Linked DNA regions of Homo sapiens: region 2 is linked to region 1. Evidence: promoter capture Hi-C in human tissues and cell types (Jung and others, 2019). All regions are on one chromosome and are shown on one strand. The core of a region is centred on a gene start or on the middle of the fragment in contact, and the rest is flanking DNA. Distances in the headings are between cores, read along the strand shown.

Region 1 (5,942 bases), core at 964-3,463:
TATCGAGGTGTTCGGTCAATCCTTGTGAACCAGAGAGTGTTCCTACGAATGCTAGAGTCTCATAGAAGTAATGTCTCTTTTACGTTTTTTTGCCTGATTAATATTTTCTTCCCCTCCCGGTGCCTTCAAGTATGAATGACAATAAATACCATACATATTTACCGTGTGTGACCTCTTCATTAGGGAATTCACTAGAATCAGCCGAATTCACACAGTTATCGCCGCACTTGCTTCCCCTGTCCCTGTCGGGAGAATTTTCAGGTCTACTCGAATGAATATACTCAACAGTACAACATTATGTTCTGATCCTCCGTACTAACTCATCCCTACCACATATATATATATGTGTATATATATGTATATATATATGTGTGTATATATGTATATATATGTGTGTATATATGTGTATATATGTATATATGTGTATATATGTATATATGTATATATGTGTATATATGTATACATGTGTATATATGTGTATATGTATATATATGTATATATTATGTATATATATGTTGGTTTCAAGAAAATCCTTGAGAAACTGAACTGCCCCTCTTTCTGATTTGTGAGGAAGAAAGGAAAGGAGAGGTATTGAAAAAAATATTGTACCTTTTTACGACTCTAATATCAGGAACAATTAAAGTCAGGACCATATCTGAGGCAGAAACAAAGCAATTGCCTATCCGTACAAAGGTGACGCTCAAAGAATACTCTGTCAGGAACACAGTGTAGGGGGCCGTGTCTTAAGTAGGTGAAGAGTAATTTCAAGCCATCAATTATTTTTCAGTCTTCACTGAGTCCTTAGTTTAGTATTGCTGGATAACAAATTATCACCAGCTTTAGTGGATTAAAGTATCACAAACCTATTATCTCACAGATTCTGTAACCTGGAAGTCTGTGTATATCATGGTTAGGGTGATGGTTAATTTTATCGGTCAACTTGACTGGGCTAAAGGATGCCCAGAAAACTGGTGAAACATTGTTTCTGGGTTTGTTAGTGTGTTTCTGGGAAAAGATTAGCATTTGAATTAGCAAACTGAATAAAAAAGCCCCCACCAATGTGGGTGGCCACCACCTAATCCACTGAGGGCCTGAAAGGACAAAAAGGAAAAGGAAGGGTGAATCCTCTTTTCTATTTTTTTTTAATCTTTAACTTTTGTGGGTACATAGTAGGTGAGTATATTTATGGGGTACATGAAGTAGTTTGATACAGGCATGCACAGTGCAATAATCACATCATGGAAAATGGGGTATCTATCCCCTCAAGCATTTATCTTCTGTGTTACAATCCATTTATACTTTGTTATTTCGAAATGTACAACTAAATTATTATTGGATATATACACCTGTAGTGCTATCAAATACTAGGTCTTATTCCTTCTTTCTTTTCTTTTTTTTTAAAAACCCGTTAAGTATCCCCACTTCCCTCCCACCTTTTCTTTTTTCTTGAGCTGGGACATTCATCTTCTGCCTTTTGACATTGGAGACCCTGGTTTTCTGGCCTTTGGACTCTGGACTTACATCATCCCTACCCCTCTCCACTCTTTTTCCAGTACCTTGCATAGCGCAGCACCTAACCTGCACATATTCAATGAATGCAATTAATGCATGAAATGGCGCATTAAGGAATTATTTCTCCAAGTGCTTGATTATTCTGGTGAAATATCTTCACCAAACCCGGGCTCTCACGGAGGAGTGGTGTGTTTACTTAAGTTTCTGTTTCAGTTTTTCTTATTGTTCTTATACTATATATGAAAAGATTTATCGTATATCTCAAAGATTAACGTCCTCTCCCTATAAAATAATGTTATTTGTTCGATCAGGCTTTTCTCCGTTATGCTTCCAATTTCTCGCATCCTGCCTTTCTAAAGTCCGCACTAAGCGTTGTGATTCCCGGACTTCTAGCCGCTGGCCGCACTGACATGTATTCGGAAAAGCAATTCCAAATTCTGTAAAATATCTTCCGGCAGTGATGCGATCCGAACTCCGGCAGTGGGTTGTCAGGCCCAGGTCAGTCCTGTAGTGCGTAACGGAACTCGGTTCCGGCTGGCTCTGATCGCATCACTCCTGCATCCTGCAAGTAACGCCCTCGCCAGCTTCCACCTCCCGATCTAATTGTCCCAGAAGTCCCCGCACTTCCGCTGTACGGCTGAGTGTTTGCCAAGATGGCCGCGCCCGTGCGCTATTACCGAAGGGCGCCGCCATCGCGGCTGCCGGACCCGCTAAGGCCGCCCTCCGGGTAGCCGCCATGTCGGTCTCCAGCGGCGTCCAGATTCTGACAAAGCCAGAGACCGTGGACCGGAGGAGAAGTGCGGAAACGACCAAAGAGGCCGGGCGACCACTGGAGATGGCTGTGTCCGAGCCCGAGGCCAGCGCCGCGGTGAGAGCTGTGATGAGACAGGGTGTTTTGGCGGTCAGAGATGGTGTACTTGCGGGGCAGTGATTGGAGTAGTCTGTGACGATAGGTGATTTGGGAATTGGTGGAATCGATGCTAGATGGTCTTTTGGGAGGTCGGTGTTCTGAGTTATCTGTGGGGTTAATGATTTGGCTTTAGGATATCAGTATTAGGAGGGATCTGCAGAGACAATGATGGGGAGGCGTCTGTGGCAGTCACCGAGTGTCGGAGTTTGGAAGGAGATCAGAAATGGAGGCTTTGTGATGTGTCAGAGATAGGGAAGGACCGTGGGGGTTGGCGGTTTGGGATGTCTATGGGAGCCAGCGATTATGGGTGCCTGTGGTGGTTAGAGCCTGGGTTATCAAAGAGGGTCAGTGTTAGGATTTGGGAAATTCAGTGATTGGGAGCATCTGGGAGCATCAGAGATTGGGGCTTGGGAGTCAGTGACGGTGATGTCTGTGGAAGTTTGATTAGCAGTATCTTTGAGGGTCAGTGGGTAATGGAGGAATCGGGGGGCCAGTGAGGGGGGAATATGACTGTTGGAGTTTGGGGAGTCAATGTTGAGGTGTCTCTGGGGATGGTAGATGATTTGTATGTCATCTGGGGAGAAAAGGTAATTGGGGATGTATGCAGGTCAATAATTAGGTGGTGTCTAGCAGTAATAACTGTGCTTTGAGTAATGAGGTGATTAGTAGGAATTAATGATTGAAGATCCTCTATGATTCTGTGACTAGAAGTCTAAGGGGGTCAGGAGTTTGAGGGGATTGCTGCATTTAATGATTGAGGGTTCTTTGGTGGTCAGTGATTGGAGATCTGTGGAGGTTAATGATTGTTCTGTGGAGAGTGATAGTTGGGAACTTGCAGAGATCCATAATTGGGAGAAGTTTGTGAAGGTTAGTGATTGGGGAGTATTTGGGTGTCAGTGATTGAAAACTTGCAGGAACAGTAGGAACAGTCTGTAAGATGAGCATTTATTTTATGCCAGGGGGTATTTTTTATTTTATTTGTTTGGTGTTGTTGTTTTGCAGTCCCTGCTTTGTCCTCAAAACCAGGGAATGTTTTAAATGCTGGAGACACACCAGGAAACAAAACCAGAATCCCTCCCTCAATGACTTACATTATAGAAATATGAAAGATATCATAAAATATAAACAAATAAAATTATTCCAGACACTAATAAGTGCTGAAGTAAGTAAAAGAGGATGGTGTGGTACAGAGTGATTGAGGGTAGGGAGTGCATGACTTTAGCCAGGTTAGTCATGGAAAGCTTTCCTTAGCAAATGACAGTTGGGTTGAGGCATAAATCATCACAAGGAGGCAGCCATGCAGAGATCTGAAGAAAGAGTGTTTCAGGAAGAAATAAACATCAACTGCAAAGGACCTGGGGTAGGAGTAAACTTGGTGTGCTTAAAAAAGAGAAGGAAGATTAGTGCTGTTGGAGCACAGTCAGAGGGAAAGTAGAAAGCTGTGAATCATAGTGGTAGGAAGGTATCAGATAATGTAGGATTTTATTGGCTAGTGTAAGGATTTGGATTTTATTCTAGATGCAGTGAGAAGCCATTGAGTTTAAGCAGGGGAATGATCTGTTCTGACTGACACCTTGAAAAGATCACCATGGCTACCTCATGGAAGACGGACTGCAGAGGGGCAAGAGTAGGTAGATATAGGGAGGTCAGTTAGGAACTTTTTGCAATAGTCAAAGACAAGAGATTATGGTGATTTAGAATAGAGTTGTAGCAGCAAAATGAAATCAAATTCAGAATACATCTGGAGATAAGCAATAGAACTTACTAATGTATTGATATATGGAGTATGAGGAAAGAGAAGAATCGAGATTTACATCTAGACTTTTAACCTGAAGAACCGGATGGATGGTGATTCTATTTTCTGAATGGAAAGGGTTATGGTGGAAAAGACTAGATTTGGTGGATGGAAATGGGATCTGGGGTGATGTCAGTGGCTCTATTTTGGCCGTGTCAAAATGCTCATTGCACATCTACCTAGAGATATTGGGTAGCCACTATATATATGAATCTGGAACTTAGGAAAGGGGTGAGCTAGGGAACCATTTTTGAAATGCATCACAATAAAGATGGTATTTAAAGCCTTAAGATTGGCTCGGGTCACCTAGGAAGAGAAGACAGATAGGGAAGAGAAGAGAGCCAGGGACAGAGGGCTGGGTCACTCTGACATTTAAAAGTCTGGTAGAAGACAAAAAACAACAGAGAGAATAAGGGGTGCCCATTGAAGTAAGAGGAAAACTGTGCAAGTGGGTGTCAAAGTAGCATAGAGAAGAAAGCCTTTCAAGACAATAGAAGTAATCAATTGTCATATATGCTTTTGAGTCCTAAAAGCAGGACTAGAGATCATTTGATTTTGTCAGTATGTAGCTCAATGGTTATTTTGATTGATTAGAACTCTTTTATTGGAGTTAAGGGGATAATATCCTGTTAGAGTGAGTTGAAAGAATGAGAGGTAATGAAGTGGAAACAGCAAGTATAGGCAACAGTTATGAGGAGTTCTGCTGGTAAAGGAAGCAGAGAAATGGACGTTGTATAGGATATGAAATCAAGAGGGGGTTTTCTTTAGATGAATGATATTAAGACAACTCTGTGTGTCAATGGGAATGACCCAAATAAAAGGGAGACACAGATGTTACAAAACAGAAAGAGGTACTTGCAGGAGTGAAGTCTTTGGGAAGGCAGTTGGGGATGGGATTGAGAGCACAAATGGAGAAACTGGCCTTAGGTGAGAGAAGGAAGACTTTCCATTTTAACAGAAGAGAAGGTATATTGTATATGAGTTTGGAAACAGGTTGCTGGAATTGGTGGTAACAAGACAGGGTAATTCTTGTCCATTTGGATTTATTTTCTCTTGAAAGCATAAAGCAAATTCATCAGCCAAGAGTGGGAAAGGAGTAGATGTTGGAGTTTTCAGAGTTAAAAAGGAGAATGTTCAAAATAATCACCTAGGAAAAAGGAAAGGTGTATTTTCTAGGGTTAGGTAGTAGGACTACTGACAGGATTAGGTGTCCATTTGGCATGTGTGTTATAAATTTGAAGTTAGTCCACTCAGCAGTTTGATTTTTCTCTTGCAATGTTCAGTTGCAAGGTTTCAGGCAGAGATTAAGAGGAGAGTTGGATTTAACCAAGGTTGAGGCTTTGACAGGTGAGTACAGTGGAGAAGAAGAGAATCAAGGAAGTTAAAACTTTATAGTTTTTAATTGATTGTGTATGGTGCTAGAACAAGGAATCTGAACAAGAAAGAAAGGCTAGGTAAAGGTGGAAGATTGTGAAAAAGTGGTTAGGATCAGAGGGCTCAATGAGTTTGGAGAATTATTGGAGTGAAAGTACTAGAAAAAGTAGCAGGATAGGAAATGATGGTCAGAGGGCGGAATGTCTTAGAGATTTTTGCAGGTGGTACAGTGATGGCAAGGTGTAAGTGCAGATAATTGATGAATAGGTGGCTGAATTTGAGTGGAAGAAGAGGTTGCTGACCTCATGAAAAAGAGAGGCAAGGGTGTTGAATGGCTCTTCCACGTTGATA
Region 2 (5,942 bases), core at 1,072-3,571, 75 kb after region 1:
CAGGAGTTCGAGACCAGCCTGGGCAACATGGTGAAACCCCATGTCTACTAAAAATACAAAAATCAGCCAGGCATGGTGACACACACCTGTGATCCCAGCTACTTGGGAGGCTGAGGCACAAGAATTGCATGAACCCGAGAGGAGGAGGTTGCAGTGAGCCAAGATTGCACACTGCACTCCAGCCTGAGTGATAGACAAAGACTGTCTCAAAAAAAAAAAAAAAAAAGTTTCAACTCATGTTGAAACTTAATCCCCAATGCAAAAGTGTTGGGAGGTGAGGCCTAATGGGAGGTGTTTAGGTCATGAGGACTGAGGACTTCACCCTTCATGAATGGAATGCCACTATAAAATGGAATGGATTTGCTCTTTTCTGCTTTTCTGCCATGTGAGGAACAGTGTTCCTCCCACTCCTCAAGAGGATGCAGTGTTCAAGGTGCCATCTTAGAAGCAGAGACTGGGCCCTTTCCAGACACCAAAACCTGCCATCACCTTGGACTTCTCAGCCTCTAGAACTGTGTAAAATAAATTTCTGTTCCTTATAAATTACCCAGTCTCAGGTATTGTTATAGCAGCACAAAATGGACTAAGACAGTGGCAAATGGCTTGGCTGGTTGGGCAGAGACATGAAAGGATTAATAATTGGGATACTGTAGATAAGGAAGTCTAGGTAAGAGGCATGTAAATGGATCTATGGGATTGCGCACAGGCTGAAAAAGTTTGTGTTGTAGAGAGAATCTTATGAAAAATGGGCATTAAACAAGTATACAAGGAGCCAGTCTGTCTTTTGCTACCATGGTTCTGTGCAATGGGCTCATGAATTAAGAAACCATGATTGCAGGGATGTAGGTGTTACATGGGCCCAACAACATGGTCTCTTTATCACCAAGGCTCATTCAGCTATTGTTATTGTTGAATGACTGAAGCTTCAGCTGCAGAAACTGACTGTAAGCCTCTGTGTGGTAACATCCTTTAGGAGATCAGCCAGCCATATGGTGGCAAGTTGATTAAAATGGACGCTTTTTATTTAGGAAGAAGCACTGATTTGTTCTTGCTGGAACTGGCAACTACACTGGAGGTGGGTTTACCTTCACCTTCTTCAGTGACTGACTGTATCACTATTTGAGGAGCTTACTGAGTGGCTAATTTATGAATGTGGGAGCCTGCAAAACATTGCTTCAGACCAATGTACCCATTTTACAGTGAAGGATGTATGACAGTGTGTGTATGATCATGAGATCATACACATGAGTAGATCATGAGATCTACAGGTCTTACCATATACCATATCACCTAGAAGTTGACATACTAATTTTGAAATGGCTTCTTTAAGACTAAGCTAAAGGCTGGTGCCTCATACCTGTAATTCCTGCACTTTGGGAGGCTGAGGTAGGAGGATCGCTTGAGCTCAGGAATTCAAGACCAGCCTGAGAACACGATGAAACCCCATCTCCACAAAAGATACCCAAATTAGCTGGCTTGCTAGCATGTGCCTGTAGTACCAGTTACTCGGGAGGCTGCGGTGAGAGGATCACATGAGCCCAGAAGGTCGATGCTGCAGTGAGCTGTGATTGCACCACTGCCCTCCAGCCTGGGCAACAGAATGAGACCCTGTCTCAAAAAAACGAAGACTCATCTAAGGCACCAGTTTAGGAATGACACCATTCAGGGTTAGGGTGCTCTTGTCCAAGTTGTGGTACATATATTGAAGCTATTGCCTAACAAATTGTTCTCTATCCCCAGTAGCTATTATACACAGGTCCAGTAACCAAGGGTGAAAGTAGAATTGGCTTTTCTCACCGTTATTTCCAGAGTCCCACTAATCTTTCTTTTCCCATAAACTTAGGCTGTGCTAGTTTAAAGGTTCTGTTTCTTAGGGCAGGAGTTCCACTGACCATGAAGCTATGGCTACTGCCTGGTCTTTGGGTCCCTCATTTTAATAGATCGACAGGTTAAACATACATACATGTATATGTGGGTAGATGCCATTTATGAGATTGAGGAAGTTTTTCTAGTTCTACTTTGCTGAGAATTTCATGTTAAATTTCCTCAAATGCTTTGTCTATATCTATTGAAATAATCATATGGATTTTCACCTTTATTTTTAATTTTTTAAAATTATACTTTAAGTTCTGGCATACATGTGCAGAACATGCAGGTTACATAGGTATACATGTGCCATGGTGGTTTGCTGCACCCATCAACCTGTCATCTACATTAGGTATTTCTCCTAATGCTATCCCCTCCCCTTGTCCCCCCACCCCCCGACAGGCCCTGTTGTGTGATGTTCCCCTCCCTGTGCCCATATGTTCTCATTGTTCAACTCCCACTTATGAGTGAGAACATACGGTGTTTGGTCTTCTGTTCCTGTGTTAGTTTGCTGAGAATGATGGTTTCCAGCTCCATCCATGTCCCTGCAAAGGACATGAACTTTCTTTTTTATGGCTGCACAGTGTTCCGTGGTGTATATGTGCCACATTTTCTTTATCCAGTCTGTCATTGATGGGCATTTGGGTTGGTTCCAAGTCTTTGCTATTGTGAATACTACTGCAATAAACGTATGTGTGAATATGTCTTTATAGTAGAATGATTTATAATCCTTTGGGTGTATATCCGGTAATGGGATTGCTGGGTCAAATGGTATTTCTAGTTCTAGATCCTTGAGGAATCGCCACACTGTCTTCCACAATGGTTGAACTAATTTACACTCCCACCAACAGTGTAAAAGCGATCCTATTTCTCCACATCCCCTCCAGCATCTGTTGTTTCCTGACTTTTTATGATCGCCATCCTAACTGGTGTGAGATGGTATCTCGTGGTTTTGATTTGCATTTCTCTAATGACCAGTGATGATGAGCTTTTTTTCATATGTTTGTTGGCCACATAAATATCTTCTTTTGAACAGTGTCTGTTCATATCCTTTGCCCACTTTTTGATGGGGTTGCTTTTTTTTCTTATAGATTTGTTTAAATTCCTTGTAGATTCTGGACATTAGCCCTTTGTCAGATGGATAGATTGCAAAAGTTTTCTCCCACTCTGTAGGTTGCCTCTTCACTCTGATGATAGTTTCTTTTGCTGTGCAGAAGCTCTTTAATTGGATCCTATTTGTCATTTTTGGCTTTTGTTGCAATTGCTTCTTGTGTTTTAGTCATGAAGTTTTTGCCCATGCCTGTGTCCTGAATGGTATTGCCTAGGTTTTCTTCTAGGGTATTTATGGTTTTAGGTCTTATGTTTAAATCTTTAATCCATCTTGAGTTAATTTTTGTATAAGGTGTAAGGAAGGGGTCCAGTTTCAGTTTTCTGCATATGGCTAGCCAGTTTTCCCAACACCATTTATTAAATAGGGTATTCTTTCCCCATAGCTTGTTTTTGTTAAGGTTTGTTGAAGATCAGATGGTTGTAGATGTGTGGTGTTATTTCTGACGCCTCTGTTCTGTTCCATTGGTCTATATATCTGTTTTGGTACCAGAACCATGCTGTTTTGGTTACTGTAGGCTTGTAGTATAGTTTGAAGTCAGGTAGTGTGATGCCTCCAGCTTTGTTGTTTTTGCTTAGGATTGTCTTGGCTATATGGGCTCTTTTTTGATTCCATATGAAATTTAAAGTAGTTTTTCCTAGTTCTGTGAAGAAAGTCAATGGTAGCTTGATGGGAATAGCATTGAATCTATAAATTACTTTGGGCAGTATGGCCATTATCACAATATTGATTCTTCCTATCCATTAGCATGGAATGTTTTTCCATTTGTTTGTATTCTCTCTTATTTCCTTGAGCAGTGGTTTGTAGTTCTCCTTGAAGTGGTCCTTCACATCCCTTGTAAGTTGTATTCCTAGGTATTTTATTCTCTTTGTAGCACTTGTGAATGGGAGTTTACTCATGATTTGGCTCTCTATTATTGGTGTATAGGAATGGTTGTGATTTTTGCACATTGATTTTGTATCCTGAGACTTTGCTTATCAGCTTTAGGAGTTTTTGGGCTGAGACCATGGGGTTTTCTAAATATACAATTATGCCATCTGCAAACAGAGATAATTTGACTTCCTCTCTTCCTATTTGAATATCCTTTATTTCTTTCTCTTGCCTGATGGCCCTGGCCAGGACTTCCAATACTACGTTGAATAGGAGTGGTAAGAGAGGGCATCCTTGTGCCAGTTTTCAAAGGGAATGCTTCCAGCTTTTGCCCATTCAGTATGATATTGGCTGTGGGTTTGTCATAAATAGCTCTTATTATTTTGAGATACGTTCCATCAATAGCTAGTTTATTGAGTGTTTTTAGGATGAAGGGGTGTTGAATTTTATTGAAGGCCTTTTCTGCATCTATTGAGATAATCATGTGGTTTTTGTCATTGGTTCTGTTTATGTGACGGATTATGTTTATTGATTTGCATATGTTGAAACAGCCTTGCATCCCAGGGATGAAGCTGACTTGATCGTGGTGGATAAGGTTTTTAATCTGCTGCTATATTTGGCTTGCCAGTATTTCATTGAGGATTTTTGCATCGATGTTTATTAGGGATATTGGCCTGAAATTTTCTTTTTTTGTTGTGTCTCTGCCAGGTTTTGGTATCAGGATGATGCTGGTCTTATAAAATGAGTTATGGAGGAGTCCCTCTTTTTCTATTGTTTGGAATAGTTTTAGAAGGAATGGTACCAGCTCATCTTTGTACCTCTGGTAGAATTTGGCTGTGAATCCATCTGGTCCTGGGCTTTTTTTAGTTGGTAGGCCATTAGTTACTGCCTCAATTTCAGAACTTTTATTGGTCTATTCAGGGATTCGATTTCTTCCTGGTTTAGCCTTGGGAGGGTGCATGTGTCCAGGAATTTATCCATTTCTTCTAGATTTTCTAGTTTATTTGTGTAGAGGTGTTTGTAGTATTCTCTGATGTTAGTTTGTATTTCTGTGGGATCAGTGGTGATATCCTTTTTATCATTTTTTATTGTGTCTATTTGATTCTTCTCTCCTTATTAGTCTGGCTAGCAGTCTATTTTGTTAATGTTTTCAAAAAACCAGCTCCTGGATTCATTGATTTTTTGAAGGGATTTTCATGTCTCTATCTCCTTCAGTTCTGCTCTGATCTTAGTTATTTCTTGTCTTCTGCTGGAAGTGGGGTGCAGAGAGAGGGACAGAAAAGAGTGAGTGGGATGCTGACATCACCATCTTAGTTTGGTGAAATAATTAGACCAGGCTTCAAGTCGCACCAGAAGCCAACTATGCCCCACTTACAAGTGTTCTGGCTCCACCCAGCAGCCACCAACCTTCAACGCCAGCTTCCCAGAGCCCTGCCTTTTACTGCAACTGCTGATTTGCCTGGCAGGTTTTTGCCTCTCATTTTTGCATGCATAGAACCTGGGGCCAGCAAGAGCTCTGCTAGTCTGACAGGGGGCTGAAGGGAGTCAGCATTCAGATGCCAGGGAATTTCCATTAAAATGGAAGAAAATTAAGAAATCAAATTCTCAACTCAAAAAACTAGTAAAAACATTAATATAGAAACAAAAGAAACAAAATAATAAAGACAAAAGCAGATATTGGTGATATATAAAACCAAAAGGCAGTAGAACTAATATATAAGTAAAAATCCTCATTTATTTGTTTACTTGTAATTTCTTTCCCTCCTCTTTATTCCTCCATCTCCTTCTTTTCAACAGGGTGACACATTCAACTGGAGAGGGAGTGCTTCACCCTCTTCAGTCAGCTATTTGTGCTTGTGCTTTCATGTTGGGACTTTCCTTTTTTTTTTTTTTTTTGAGATGGAGTCTCCCTCTGTCACTCAGACTGGAGTGCAGTGGCGCGACCTCGGCTCACTGCAACCTCCGCCTCCCAAGTTCAAGCGATTCTCGTGCCTCAGCCTCCTTGCTGGGACTACAGGCGTGCACCCACCACACCCAGCTAACTTTTTTTGTATTTTTAGTAGAGATGGGGTTTCACCACGTTGGTCAGGCTGGTCTT

Evidence for each region. The method cuts DNA at HindIII sites, captures the fragments that hold promoters and counts their contacts. A contact is called where the count stands out against the background at its distance.
Region 2: a fragment that was not itself captured here is called in contact with the fragment with the promoter of ZFP37 in region 1 in 2 of the 25 tissues and cell types used here (IMR-90 fibroblasts and heart right ventricle).

What each region holds. Positions count from the first base shown.
Region 1 is chr9:113,052,995-113,058,936 of GRCh38, reverse strand. It overlaps ZFP37 (ZFP37 zinc finger protein), which reads left to right and starts at 2,213. Exons shown (of 4, transcript NM_003408.3): 1 at 2,213-2,380. The coding sequence starts at 2,249. RefSeq lists an enhancer at 2,013-2,582. The HindIII fragment of the contact is 44,168 bases long and covers 1-5,942 here.
Region 2 is chr9:112,978,034-112,983,975 of GRCh38, reverse strand. No RefSeq gene overlaps it. Among named protein-coding and RNA genes, the nearest start is that of ZNF883, 31 kb to the left of the region's middle. The HindIII fragment of the contact is 5,184 bases long and covers 1-4,913 here.